Regions from separate parts of the Homo sapiens genome. Here regions 1 and 3 are each linked to region 2. Evidence: promoter capture Hi-C in 16 types of primary human blood cells and fetal thymus (Javierre and others, 2016). All regions are on one chromosome and are shown on one strand. Each heading gives the region's core, a stretch centred on a gene start or on the middle of the fragment in contact. The rest is flanking DNA. Distances are from core to core; before and after follow the strand shown. Region 1 holds the start of MAGOH (mago homolog, exon junction complex subunit). Region 2 holds the start of FAF1 (Fas associated factor 1). Region 3 holds the start of CZIB-DT (CZIB divergent transcript).

Region 1 (3,811 bases), core at 226-2,725, 2.3 Mb before region 2:
CGGTGGCTCATGCCTGTAATCCCAGCACTTTGGGAGGCCGAGGCAGACGGATCGCCTGAGGTCGGGAGTTCGAGACCAGCCTGGCCAACATGGTGAAACCCCGTCTCTACTAAAAACAGAAAATTACAAAAATTAGCTGGACATGGTGGCGCATGCCTGTAATCCCAGCTACTTGGGAGGCTAAGGCAGGAGAATCACTTGAACCCAGGAGTTTGAGACCAGCGTGGGCAACATAGGGAGACTTTGCCTCTACAAAAAGTTTAAAAATTAGGTAGGCGAGGTTGCGGTGAACTGAGATCACTCCATTGCACTCCAGCCTGGGCAACAAGAGCGAAACTCCGTCTCAAAAAGAAAAGACTGGGAATAGGAATCAGAGACTGCTGTCCCAACTTACAGAATCGTATACAGTTCTAGCCGCCAGGACCCAAGAATGATGTCATCTCGGCACTGTCTCTAGAACCATTCATTCTTTCTAAGCCTGGAACTTAGATGAGTGAAAGCAGGTTCCTATTACATAATTATGATCTTGATTGCCCTGGGCCTACTCAACTGTAAATTTTTTCCAGAGCCAGAAAGGCTTCACAGAGGACAACTTTACCCTGAAAAGAAAGGACCTCTTTGGTCAGTGGTCCTCAACTCTGACTCACCTGAAAGCTTTACAAAAAGTACCAATGCCCAGGTCCAGCGCTGGAGATTTTAACTGGCTTGGGGTAGAGCCCTGGCATCAGTATTTTTAGAGGCTTCCCAAGTGATTGCAATGTGCAGCCAGGCAGAGAATTACTGCTCGGTAAGTGGGATGACTGGGGAGTGGGAGATCAAATACTCTAACGTCTCCCAGCACCTATTCTAGAGATCAGTGGGGCAGAAAGGTAGAAATAAAAGGTGGAAAGGGATGAAATGGGTAAGTGTGGGTGAATTAGTTCCAGGAAAACGGCAATCTCCACTGTGGATTCAGGGAAGGCGTCACTGAGGAGGGCTTTCTTAACAGTTCAGGTCAGTGGAAGCCAACTTGAGGCACACATCGTGCGCGGCATCCTCCGGGGAGGTCGGGTCATTTCACCCCATTTTACTGCCGAGATGACCTAGGTCCAGAGACGGTAAAGAGCGGTGTACGACTCACACAAGTCGGGGGTCCTGTGAACCGAGGTTGAGCCTGGCGGGCCTTCGGCCCGAGGTCTTTAAGCGAAGTCACCAGACCCGGGGTTCAAAGCCCAGAGGTAGGCAGGCGGCTGGCTCTCCGCCTCAGGCCTGGAGAGAACCCAGGGGTATGAACCTCAACCTCGCTCCCGCGTCCAGCTGGAGGGGCGGAGCTGGCTGGCCCCGCCTCCGGGTTAAACAAAGTTCTTTACAGACTAGGCGTGAGGGGATGTTGCAGTCTTGTTGCCACTTCCGGGCGAAGAGGTTAGCGAGAAGGAACCCCTCCACGCAGCGACGACGGGACCTGACGTCACTTCCGCGCGCCGCCGCAAACGTCAGTGTCGGGCGCAGACGGCGGCAGTGCGGCTTGCTCTTGGAAGTTCAGGCTCGGTTGTCTTTTGGGAGCCATGGAGAGTGACTTTTATCTGCGTTACTACGTGGGGCACAAGGGCAAGTTCGGCCACGAGTTCCTGGAGTTTGAGTTTCGACCGGACGGTAAAAGCAGCCTGCCGCCCGCCGGGAGCGGGGACCAGGCCTGGGGGCCGGCGAGTGGGGAGGCCGAGGGTCGGAAATCTGTGGGGAACTAGAGGAGGGAGGGACTGAGACCTGTGCAGTGCAGATCTTAAAGGAACGCCACTGTGTCTGCTCCACGGGGTCTTTCTATCCATTCAGCAAACGTTGACTGAACGCCCACTGTGTGCCAGGCTCTGTTCCACTCTTTGGGAATACGGCAGCGAAGGTAGACAAACTTCCCCTCTCGTGGAACTTGTGTTTTACTGCCGGGAGAGAGATCATAAACAAAAAGATGATTCCAGATAGCAGTGAGTGGTCAAAAAATAACATGGTAGAATAATTGCTGGATGGGCTGCTTTTAGATAGGTTGGCCATTAGAGAGCTCTCTGTAAAGGGTATATTGCAGCCGAGTCCTAATTAACAAGAAGGGCTCAGCCTTGTGAAGCTCATAAGGAAGACCATTCTACACAAAGGGAATACCAGATGTCAAGGCTGCAGGGCGGGAATGAGCTAGGCGTGTCTCAGGTGGTCAGTGTGGTTGAAGAGTGGTGAGCTGGGAGATAGCAGGAGATGATGTCGGATAGGTAGGTAGGAGCGGCACCTCTTAGGTCTTTATAGACCACGGTAAAAAGTTTGGACTTGGAAGGCCTTTTTTTTTTTTTTTTTTTTGAGACGGCTTTCGCTCTTTTTGCCCAGGCTGGAGTGCAATGGCGCGATCTCGGCTTATTGCAACCTCCGCCTCCCGGGTTCAAGTGATTCTCCTGCCTCAGCCTCCCGAGTAGCTGGAATTATAGGCGCCCACCACCACGCCCGGCTAATTTTGTATTTTTAGTAGAGACGGAGTTTCACCATGTTGGCCAGGCTGGTCTCGAACTCCTGACCTCAGGTGATACGCCCGCCTCGGCGTCCCAAAGTGCTGGGATTACAGGTGTGAGCCACCGCGCCCGGCCGGGCTTGGAAGGTTTTAAGCAGAGAAGAAATGTGATCTCTTCTTGAAAAAGCATTCTGGTTATTGGGTGCGGAATGGGCAAGAGTGGAAACAGGGCTATTGATTAGGAGACTGTTGCAGTTGTCAAGACACGAAAGATGTTGGGGGCCGGGCGCGGTGGCTCAAGCCTGTAATCTCAGCCCTTTGGGAGGCCGAGGTATGCGGATCACTTGAGGTCAGGAGTTCAAGACCAGCCTGGCCAACATGGTGAAACCCCGCCTCTACTAAAAATACAAAAATTAGCCGGGTGTGGTGGCAGACGCCTGTAATCCCAGCTGCTCGGGAGGCTGAGACAGGAGAATCTCTTGAACCTGGGGCGGAGGTTGCAGCAAGCTGAGATAGTGCCACTGTACCCCAGCCTGGGTGACAGAGCAAGACTCTGTCTCAAAAAAAAAAAAAAAAAAAGATACTGGTTGGGACTACAGAGATAGTAGAAATGGAGAGAAAGATTTAGGAAACTGTTGGAGGCAGAACCAACTGGACTTTGATCGTTGATAGGATTTTGTTGGCAGAGGCACTGTGGTGAAGGAAAGAGCAATCAAAGATGACAGAAGACATCCACTAAGTGGGGCACAAAGATGAATCTGACAGGCCTCGACTGTGAGGGAGATAGATTTGTAAGCAGTGATAAAACAGCACATTAGGTGTTGTGGTAAAAAGAAACAGAGGAGGCTCGCAGCAGAGAAGGGTGCACCTAACCAAGCCTGAGGGTCAGAGGAGGCTTCCTACATAAAATGATGGGAGGAGGGGATGTGAGGAATTGGTTAGGAGACGAAGAAGAGTCAAGAAGGCATTTTAGACAGCATGCAAAGAAGCTGAAAACCAAAAAGTGCTTGGGATGTTTCAGGCAGAAACCAAGTAGTTTGACTTCAGCTGTGTGAGAGAAGAATATTGGCAGGAATGAGGCTGGAAAAGCAGGCAGGGGCTTAGCTTAGCTGTATGCCATGTTGAGGAGTTTGGATTTTACCAGGAAGGCAGTGGAAAGCCATTGACTTTATCAAAGTATTAGAGTAACCTAATCTGATAGATCTGTTACCACATCACCTTGTCCACTGTATGGACAGTGAACTGAATGTGAAGAAACTTGAGGCAGAGAGACAGCACAGAGGCTGTTGGAATAAATTCACTGGGCTCATCTCACATGTATGTCTTCTAGTCTACATGTCTTCTATT
Region 2 (3,687 bases), core at 862-3,361:
GTTTTACTCTGTCACCCAGGCTGGGGTGCAGTAGTGTGATCTTGGTTCACACTGCAACCTCCACCTCCCAGGTTCAGGTGATTCTCCTCCCTCAGCCTCCCTAGTAGCTGGGACTACAGGCATATGCCACCATGCCCAGCTAATTTTTGTATTATTTTTAGCAGAGATGGGATTTCACTATGTTGGCCAGGCTGGTCTTGAACTCCTGACCTCAAGTGATCTGCCTGCCTCGGCCTCCCAAAGTGTTGGGATTATAGGCATAAGCCACTGCCCTGGCCATGGAATTATTTTCTTACGGCTGAAAATTAAGCAAGACATTTTGATTCATGTGACTGTGGAGGGTTCTATTATCTAGCTAATTCTGGTCTAAACACAGATTAGTACTTAAGAACTGTAGGCCAGCCTATTTTCATTTAAGGAAACACACAGAATAAACTCAGATCATAATACAGTGCACTTCTTTATATTCAGTGAAACTGAACAATTAGGTCATATTTCTGATTTCTCATGAATATATTCCCAGTTTATGGAGCCTAGGCCTTGCTGGGTGTGGTGGTATGGCTCACACCTGTAATCCCCACTCTCAGGAGGCTGAGGTGGGAGGATGGCTTGAGCACAGGAGTTGGAAGCCAGCCTGGGCAACATAGTGAGGCCCTGTCTCTAAAAAAGTAAATAAATGATACAAGTTTAAAAAGTTCTTAAGGGAAGCCTAGGCCTTCATGCTACATGATGATTTCACTAGTTATTTTAGCTCTACAGGATAAAATCAGCAATCTTACTTCACATTTTCAAGCTTTTACATACTTTCCAAAGCAAGTAAATGCCCCATGACAATCCAGAAGCTGATATTTTCCCAAGTCAAGGATGAACAACTTCCACTGTCACACTTTCTCTAACCTGGACGACAATTACAAACTGTCACACTTCATTGTACATAGTCTTTGGCTGTTTTAGTTACAGAGGTTGTCAATTTCTGACCATGGGTTGAAACTTTCAATATTTGGTGAATATTCCAAAATAATTTCTTATGAAAATGAATAGGCCGGGTGCAGTGGCTCACGCCTGTAATCCCAACACTTTGGGAGGCCGAGGAGGGCGGATCACGAGGACAGGAGTTCGAGATCAGCTTGCCCAACATAGTGAAACCCCGTCTCTACTAAAAATACAAAAAAAACTTAGCCGGGCTTGGTGGCGGGAGCCTGTAATCCCAGCTACTATGGAGGCTGAGGCAGGAGAATCGCTTGAACCCAGAAAGCGGAGGTCGCAGCGAGCCGAGATCGCGCCACTGCACTCCAGCCCGGGCCACAGTGCGAGACTCCGTCTCAAAATAATAAATAAATAAATAAATAAATAAATAAATAAAAATAGACTGACTATATTCAAAGCTGGATTCAAGTTTTATCCCATTTGTAAGATGTCTCAGCTTAAAAAAACAAATATAACTGCAGCAGTAGAAAGGTTTTCCCTTTTTTCCCCCTTTGGAGCAACCCTATTAACTCGAGGTTGTTATTTCTCATAACTACCTTATCAATTAAAAAAAATGCTCCTCCTCTTCTCTGGAACGAGATTTTTACCTTTCTCAGCTTCCTCGTCTCTCCCATGTCTACCATGGCAGTCTGGTTACTTCTGTGTTACGGAGTCTGAGGATGCAGACGTCAGGGAGCTTGGGACTGGGTGTGACAGTGTGGATTCGGTTTTGACAGGTTGAGCGTGAGAGACTATATGAAGCTGTATTTTGCTGAAACATTGTAGAGAAAAACATATATTTCTGAAATGCTGTTTGTTAGACGAGTTGTAACAGTGTGTTTAGTTGGTTTGTGAGGGTGGTGTGTATTTGTGTGACTAACCACGTGAGGTGCACAATCTGGTCCCCGCCTCAGCTAGGGGGAGGCGCTATCCTGAGGCCTTTGCTTAAATCCAAACTGGAATAACCTGTTGCGAGACTTGAAGCTTCCGCAGCTGCAGGTTGCAGTCTCTGCCGCCAGCGCAGAGATCCTGGCCGGGTAGTCGCGCGCTCAGCGCTTGACAGGAGGGTGGTCACGTGGAGCCGCAAAGCGGCGCTTTGCGACCTCGATGACAGGCAAAATGTGCGACAGCCGTGGCGCTGGCCAACCAGGGGCGGAGGCGGCGGCCAGGGAGGAAGCGGAGGAGGCGGAGGCGGCCGCGGCGTTCGCCCGCCCGCTCGCTCGCTCGGTTTCCCCGCCCCCGCCGGGCTTAACGCCGCTGAAGGTATCCGGGTGCGCGCTGTCGCAACCTGCCCTCATCCTGGCCCGCGACTGTAAGACCGGACCCACATCCAGACCAATCTTCCTGTCCGGGCTGCTGCGACGCGGGCTCCGCAGGTTGCAGGCGGGCGGCCGGGGCGCCTGAAGGTTACCGAGTGCATGAGCGCCTAGCGCTTCCCGCGCTGCCCCGCCCGCTGGCCCGCCGACCCGCCCGCCGGCTCGCCCGCCAGCCCCTCGGCGCCCGGCGGCGGCGGCGGCGGTGGCGGCGACGGTCGCAGGAGGTGCCGTCTGCCTCCCAGGTGCGCGCTTCGCTCCCGGAGCCGCGGAACTCGGCGGCCGCCATGGCGTCCAACATGGACCGGGAGATGATCCTGGCGGATTTTCAGGTGAAGTATCTGGCCCTCTTCCCCTCCCACTTCCAACCTCGTGGGTTTCCGGTGCCACAAGGGAGTCTTCTTCCCAGCGTTTGAACGCTGCAGTGGTGTGTCATTTAGGCTTTTATACGGTGCGTGGCGTGTGTGTGTGTGTGTGGCGAGCTATGGAGAAGCGTATAATTTATATGCTATCATGAGTGTGTAGAATGTGTTAAGTACGGGTTGAATGGGATTGGAGGTATTAATGACTTGGGTTACAATGTGTGTGGAATGTGTAGTGTTTCCTGTATTATATGGGGGGACGTGTAGAGTTTTTGTTTTAATTGGTGTTGGACCATTAAGTATGGGATGTTTTGGGTGGTTCTGTGGGGAGAGATGTATGGAGTGTGAGCGTGGAGCGTGTGGTGTTATGGGCGTGGTGTATTTATATTGTATTAAGGGAAGAGTAAAAAAGCAGAATGATGAGATGGCGAGGGCAATGACAATGGGGTACTGAGGTCCTTTTCAAAGAGGAGTAAACATTTGAGACTTTGCCTAATTGGAATCTTTGGAGGGTAAGAAGATAACAAGGAGACAGATAAGACTATATATTCCAGAGTATCTCTGCAATGAATTCACAAGCTTAATAAATTACCTATTCATATTTGCGGATTCCCCTCCCCTACAGACTTGAATTGCTTGGTTGGTGTCCTTTCTCCAGGAATACTTTAAAGGATAAGTAAAGGCTGTTCTCTTAATAAACCCAGTCGTAGTGCCACTGACATGTAAGTATCTTAGGAAGGCCCTTTGAAAGTAGAACTGTATGCATTGTGAAAGACTTGGAGCTAGAACTAATATCCTGTGAGTGCTACCTTTGCCTTTTGATGTTTGGTGAAGGAATTATTTTAGTGAGATATTTTTGGCCATTTTGGCATCAACTTAGAAGCTACTGTCAAGTATAGGCAGACTTTTCCCTCTTTTTTAATACTCACATTGCACAGGTTCTAACACTAGCTTAGTAGGCAGTATTTTTCCTTGCTGAAATTTTGTTGGGCTTTTCTCTCTCTCTGTTCTATTAAGTTCCTTATTTTTTTTAAAATTAATTAATT
Region 3 (3,479 bases), core at 506-3,005, 2.3 Mb before region 2:
CCTGAAGCACTTTAGCCAGTGGTGGTGGGGCTCGCCAGAACCTGACCACTGGGATGGATGATTCCCCTCTGGCTAGGGTTTCTCTAAGTGCTTCCTCTGTGGGCACTAGCTGAATTCTGCCCTGAGTTGCTTTCCACTGTGACAGGGCAAAACTCAGTTCCAATGCAAAGTCCCATAAGCACACAGATTCTCTCTCTATGCCAGGCAGCCAGGTGCTGCCAGAGGATGAGGGAGGGGTGGTGGTAGCAATTCAAGACTGTCTTTCCTACCCTCTTCATTGCCTTGTTCCTTTTTTTTTCTTCTTTTATGAGATAGAGTCTCACTCTGTCACCCAGGCTAGAGTGCAATGGCATGATCTCAGCTCACTACAACCTCCACCTCCCGGGTTCAAACAATTCTCCTGCCTTAGCCTCCGGAGTAGCTGGGACTACAGGTGTGCACTGCCATACTCGGCTGATTTTTGTATTTTTAGTAGAGACAGGGTTTCACTATGTTGGCCAGCTAGGTCTCAAACTCCTGACCTCAGGTGGTCTGCCCGCCTCAGCCTCCCAAAGCACTGGGATTACAGGTGTGAGCCACCGCACCCAGCCATTGCCTTATATCTTGATGTGACGTTACAACCAGCTACTGTGATTGCTACCTGAGTTTTGGTTCTCATGAAGGTGCTTTCTTGTGTGGATAGTTGTTCAGTTTGGTGTTCCTGCCAGGGAAGAGGAGGAGGAGGATCACTGGAGGGTTCTATTTGGCTATCTTGCCCCACCTCCTAGAAGAGTCTTGAATGTGCTGTTCCTTTTACCGTTAATCTCCACAGCTCCTGCATGGTCTCAGATGTAGCCTGGACAGGAGGCCAGGTAAAATAAAGTTCAATAAACGTTATGAGAGAAGGATAAGCCAGGTGGGCTCCCAAAAAAGAGCCAGCTGAAGGGGAATGTCCAGTCGCAAGGACCACAGTGAGAAGGATGTGGACACAGGGCAAACTCTGGAGAAGGGCCTAGAAACCAGGTCTCTTGGGTGAAACAGGAAAGGGCAGTTTGAAGAAAGGCATCATCCCCAAATCTGATAAACCAATACATTCTACTTTTTAAAGCGTATTGGTTTATCTTTATTTGGCAGTCTTGGAACTCTTCCTTTTGTAGCTTTTCCCCTGGGCAGAGGGAGCTGACGTGATCTGAGAAGTTCCAGGGCAGGCAGAGTAGTGAAGAGCCTGGAAAGAACTGAGGGTCAGGAACTGTCCTGTTCGCTTAAAGCAGGCACAAAATTGGCGTTCAGTAACTGTCTGTGGCACCACCGAATCCTGGAGTCAGGCTTCCGCTGGCCTGAGCACAGGTTGCTCGCGGACCTGGCTGACCTCCACTGGCCCCAGATCCCCAGATGCGAAAAGCCCAGTGGGCCAGGCGAGCAGCGGCGCGCAGAAGTCCCTGCCCCGCGGCCCGGCCCCGGCCCCGCCCTACTGAGGGTGCGCAGACGGCACCCGCCTTTTACGACGCGCCGGAAAGCAACGGCAAGGGCCGCAGCCAGCACCGGGCGGAGAGGGCTACCATGGGGGTGAGGGGAGGCCGCCCGCCGCGGGGACACGGAGGGGAGGTGGCGAGGGTCTGGGAGGCAACAGCTCGCGCCAGGAGGAGATGAAGCGAGTGGGTGCGCGCTGAAGGAGCAGGAGGCAGAAGGAGTGTCTCCCTGTGGCACCCACGGCTGGGAATGCGGGAGGGTCGGGCAGGCGTGGGGCTGCGCAGGCACGGCTGACGCAGTCGCTCTGGCCCTCCCCCTCAGAAAATCGCGCTGCAACTCAAAGCCACGCTGGAGAACATCACCAACCTCCGGCCCGTGGGCGAGGACTTCCGGTGGTACCTGAAGGTGCGGCCGGGGCGGGGCCCGGGGAGAGGAGGCCCGTCCTGATCTCAGTGCTGAACCGGAGCCTTCTCTCCGGCAGTATGAGAAAATATTTAACCAGGCACATTAAGTGTTCGGGGTTTTCCTAGTTAGAATTTTACGTTTGCTTTCTATTAAAGTGTATTGGTTTATCTCTAATTGGCAGTCTTGGAAAGCTTCATTTTGTAGTTCTTCCCTGTGTTAAATATTTCGTGGTCTGTAAATGGACACTAAACGAAATGCTACTTGAAGGGACGCTTGTGATTATTTAATAAGGTGAATAGTTCGCCTTTCGTTTATTGATTTGGTTTTCTTTATTGTGAAATAGTTTAATTTTGTGCGTAATCCACCCTTCCTTAGCCCTCCCACACTGGTAAAGCTGGTACCCTAGTGGCATGGTCTACAGAGGCCTCCCCTTCCCCAGCAGTTCGAGGCTCTTCACTCTTCCAGATCCCAGAGCTTCTGCTCTGTTTTACTCCTGGTCAAAAATCCCAGCATCCTTCTGTACCTCTCAAAAGCCCTGTTTTTCGGGAAGCTGCCTCCGGACTACTTTTGTTTCCCAGGATTTTGAAGCCTGAATACCAGGGCTTACTTGGGAGAATCTGTTCTTTGGCTTGAAGAAGCGGAATCGAGTGAAGGAGACAGAAAAATAGAGTAACAATAGAGTGATAAGTGCTTATACCAGTGACATACAGGGCCTGTGGGAACATAAAGCTAACCAAGCAGAGTGGGTCGGGGGCCTGCTGAGGCCATTTCTCTTTTTTTTTCTTAATTGACACAGAATTGTACATATTTATGGGGTATATAGTGATGTTCCGATAAATGTAATGTATTGTGATCAGATCAAGGTAGTTAGCATATTCACCTCAAACGTGTATCATTTCTTTGTGTTGGGAGCATTTAATATCCTAGCTATTTGAAACTATATATTATTGTCAGCTATAGTCATCCTACAGTGCTATAGAACACTAGAACTTATTCCTCCCATATAGCTGTAATTTTGTATCTTCTAACAAATCTCTCCATATTCCCCCCCCTCACCTCCGCTGAAACCATTTCTGCACCACAGGTGCCTTGAATCCCCGGCCACACTGAGCACTTCATAGAGGAGGGTGGGCACGCCGGCATAGGAAACAGCCTTACCTATCCTTTGCCCAGAGATAGTTCTAGTTTTGTCCTTGTTGGGGCAGGTGTTAGGGATGAAGTGAGATTGCCATCAAGAAGGTAGATCATGAGCCTGCCCACCTCCCACTGTTCTTACCCTTTCCTTGGTGTCTGTGCAGCAGAGCCAGCTGCTTTACTAACATTCTTTTTCCCCAAAGATGAAATGTGGCAACTGTGGTGAGATTTCGGACAAGTGGCAGTACATCCGGCTGATGGTAACTGTTCCCCGCCCAACCCCCAACATAAACACTCACAAACACACATACACTTCTGGGCAGGGATTTGGGGAAACTGGCCTTCATCTCTCCAGTTCTTTGCTCCCTGCTTTTTGTGGTTTGGGAGGGTAGGTGTCAGTGTGATCAGCACTGGATTCAATAGGCATCTTTGAGGTATGAGGCAGAGTTCAAAATCAAGGGGAAGCCCTTTTTTTATTTTCCTCAGGAAGC

The links. The method cuts DNA at HindIII sites, captures the fragments that hold promoters and counts their contacts. A CHiCAGO score of 5 or more calls a contact.
Region 1: the fragment with the promoter of MAGOH here is called in contact with the fragment with the promoter of FAF1 in region 2 in 2 of 17 cell types (neutrophils and non-activated CD4 T cells); the score reaches 6.9 in neutrophils.
Region 3: the fragment with the promoter of CZIB-DT here is called in contact with the fragment with the promoter of FAF1 in region 2 in 2 of 17 cell types (neutrophils and fetal thymus); the score reaches 6.5 in neutrophils.

What each region holds. Positions count from the first base shown.
Region 1 is chr1:53,236,182-53,239,992 of GRCh38, reverse strand. MAGOH (mago homolog, exon junction complex subunit) reads left to right here and starts at 1,475. Exons shown (of 5, transcript NM_002370.4): 1 at 1,475-1,632. The coding sequence starts at 1,545. MAGOH-DT (MAGOH divergent transcript) reads right to left here and starts at 1,383. Exons shown (of 3, transcript NR_038953.1): 1 at 648-1,383. RefSeq lists enhancers at 1,464-1,593, 1,634-1,693, 1,181-1,822. The HindIII fragment of the contact is 5,872 bases long and covers 657-3,811 here.
Region 2 is chr1:50,958,691-50,962,377 of GRCh38, reverse strand. It overlaps FAF1 (Fas associated factor 1), which reads left to right and starts at 2,111. Exons shown (of 19, transcript NM_007051.3): 1 at 2,111-2,611. The coding sequence starts at 2,567. It also overlaps a transcript of CDKN2C not described here. RefSeq lists silencers at 2,145-2,304, 2,415-2,464 and an enhancer at 2,775-2,824. The HindIII fragment of the contact is 1,270 bases long and covers 1,953-3,222 here.
Region 3 is chr1:53,218,636-53,222,114 of GRCh38, reverse strand. CZIB-DT (CZIB divergent transcript) reads right to left here and starts at 1,755. Exons shown (of 1, transcript NR_185918.1): 1 at 1-1,755. It overlaps CZIB (CXXC motif containing zinc binding protein), which reads left to right and starts at 1,481. Exons shown (of 8, transcript NM_017887.3): 1 at 1,481-1,545; 2 at 1,771-1,854; 3 at 3,192-3,248. The coding sequence starts at 1,540. RefSeq lists silencers at 1,150-1,209, 1,340-1,709 and an enhancer at 1,579-2,080. The HindIII fragment of the contact is 4,059 bases long and covers 1-2,047 here.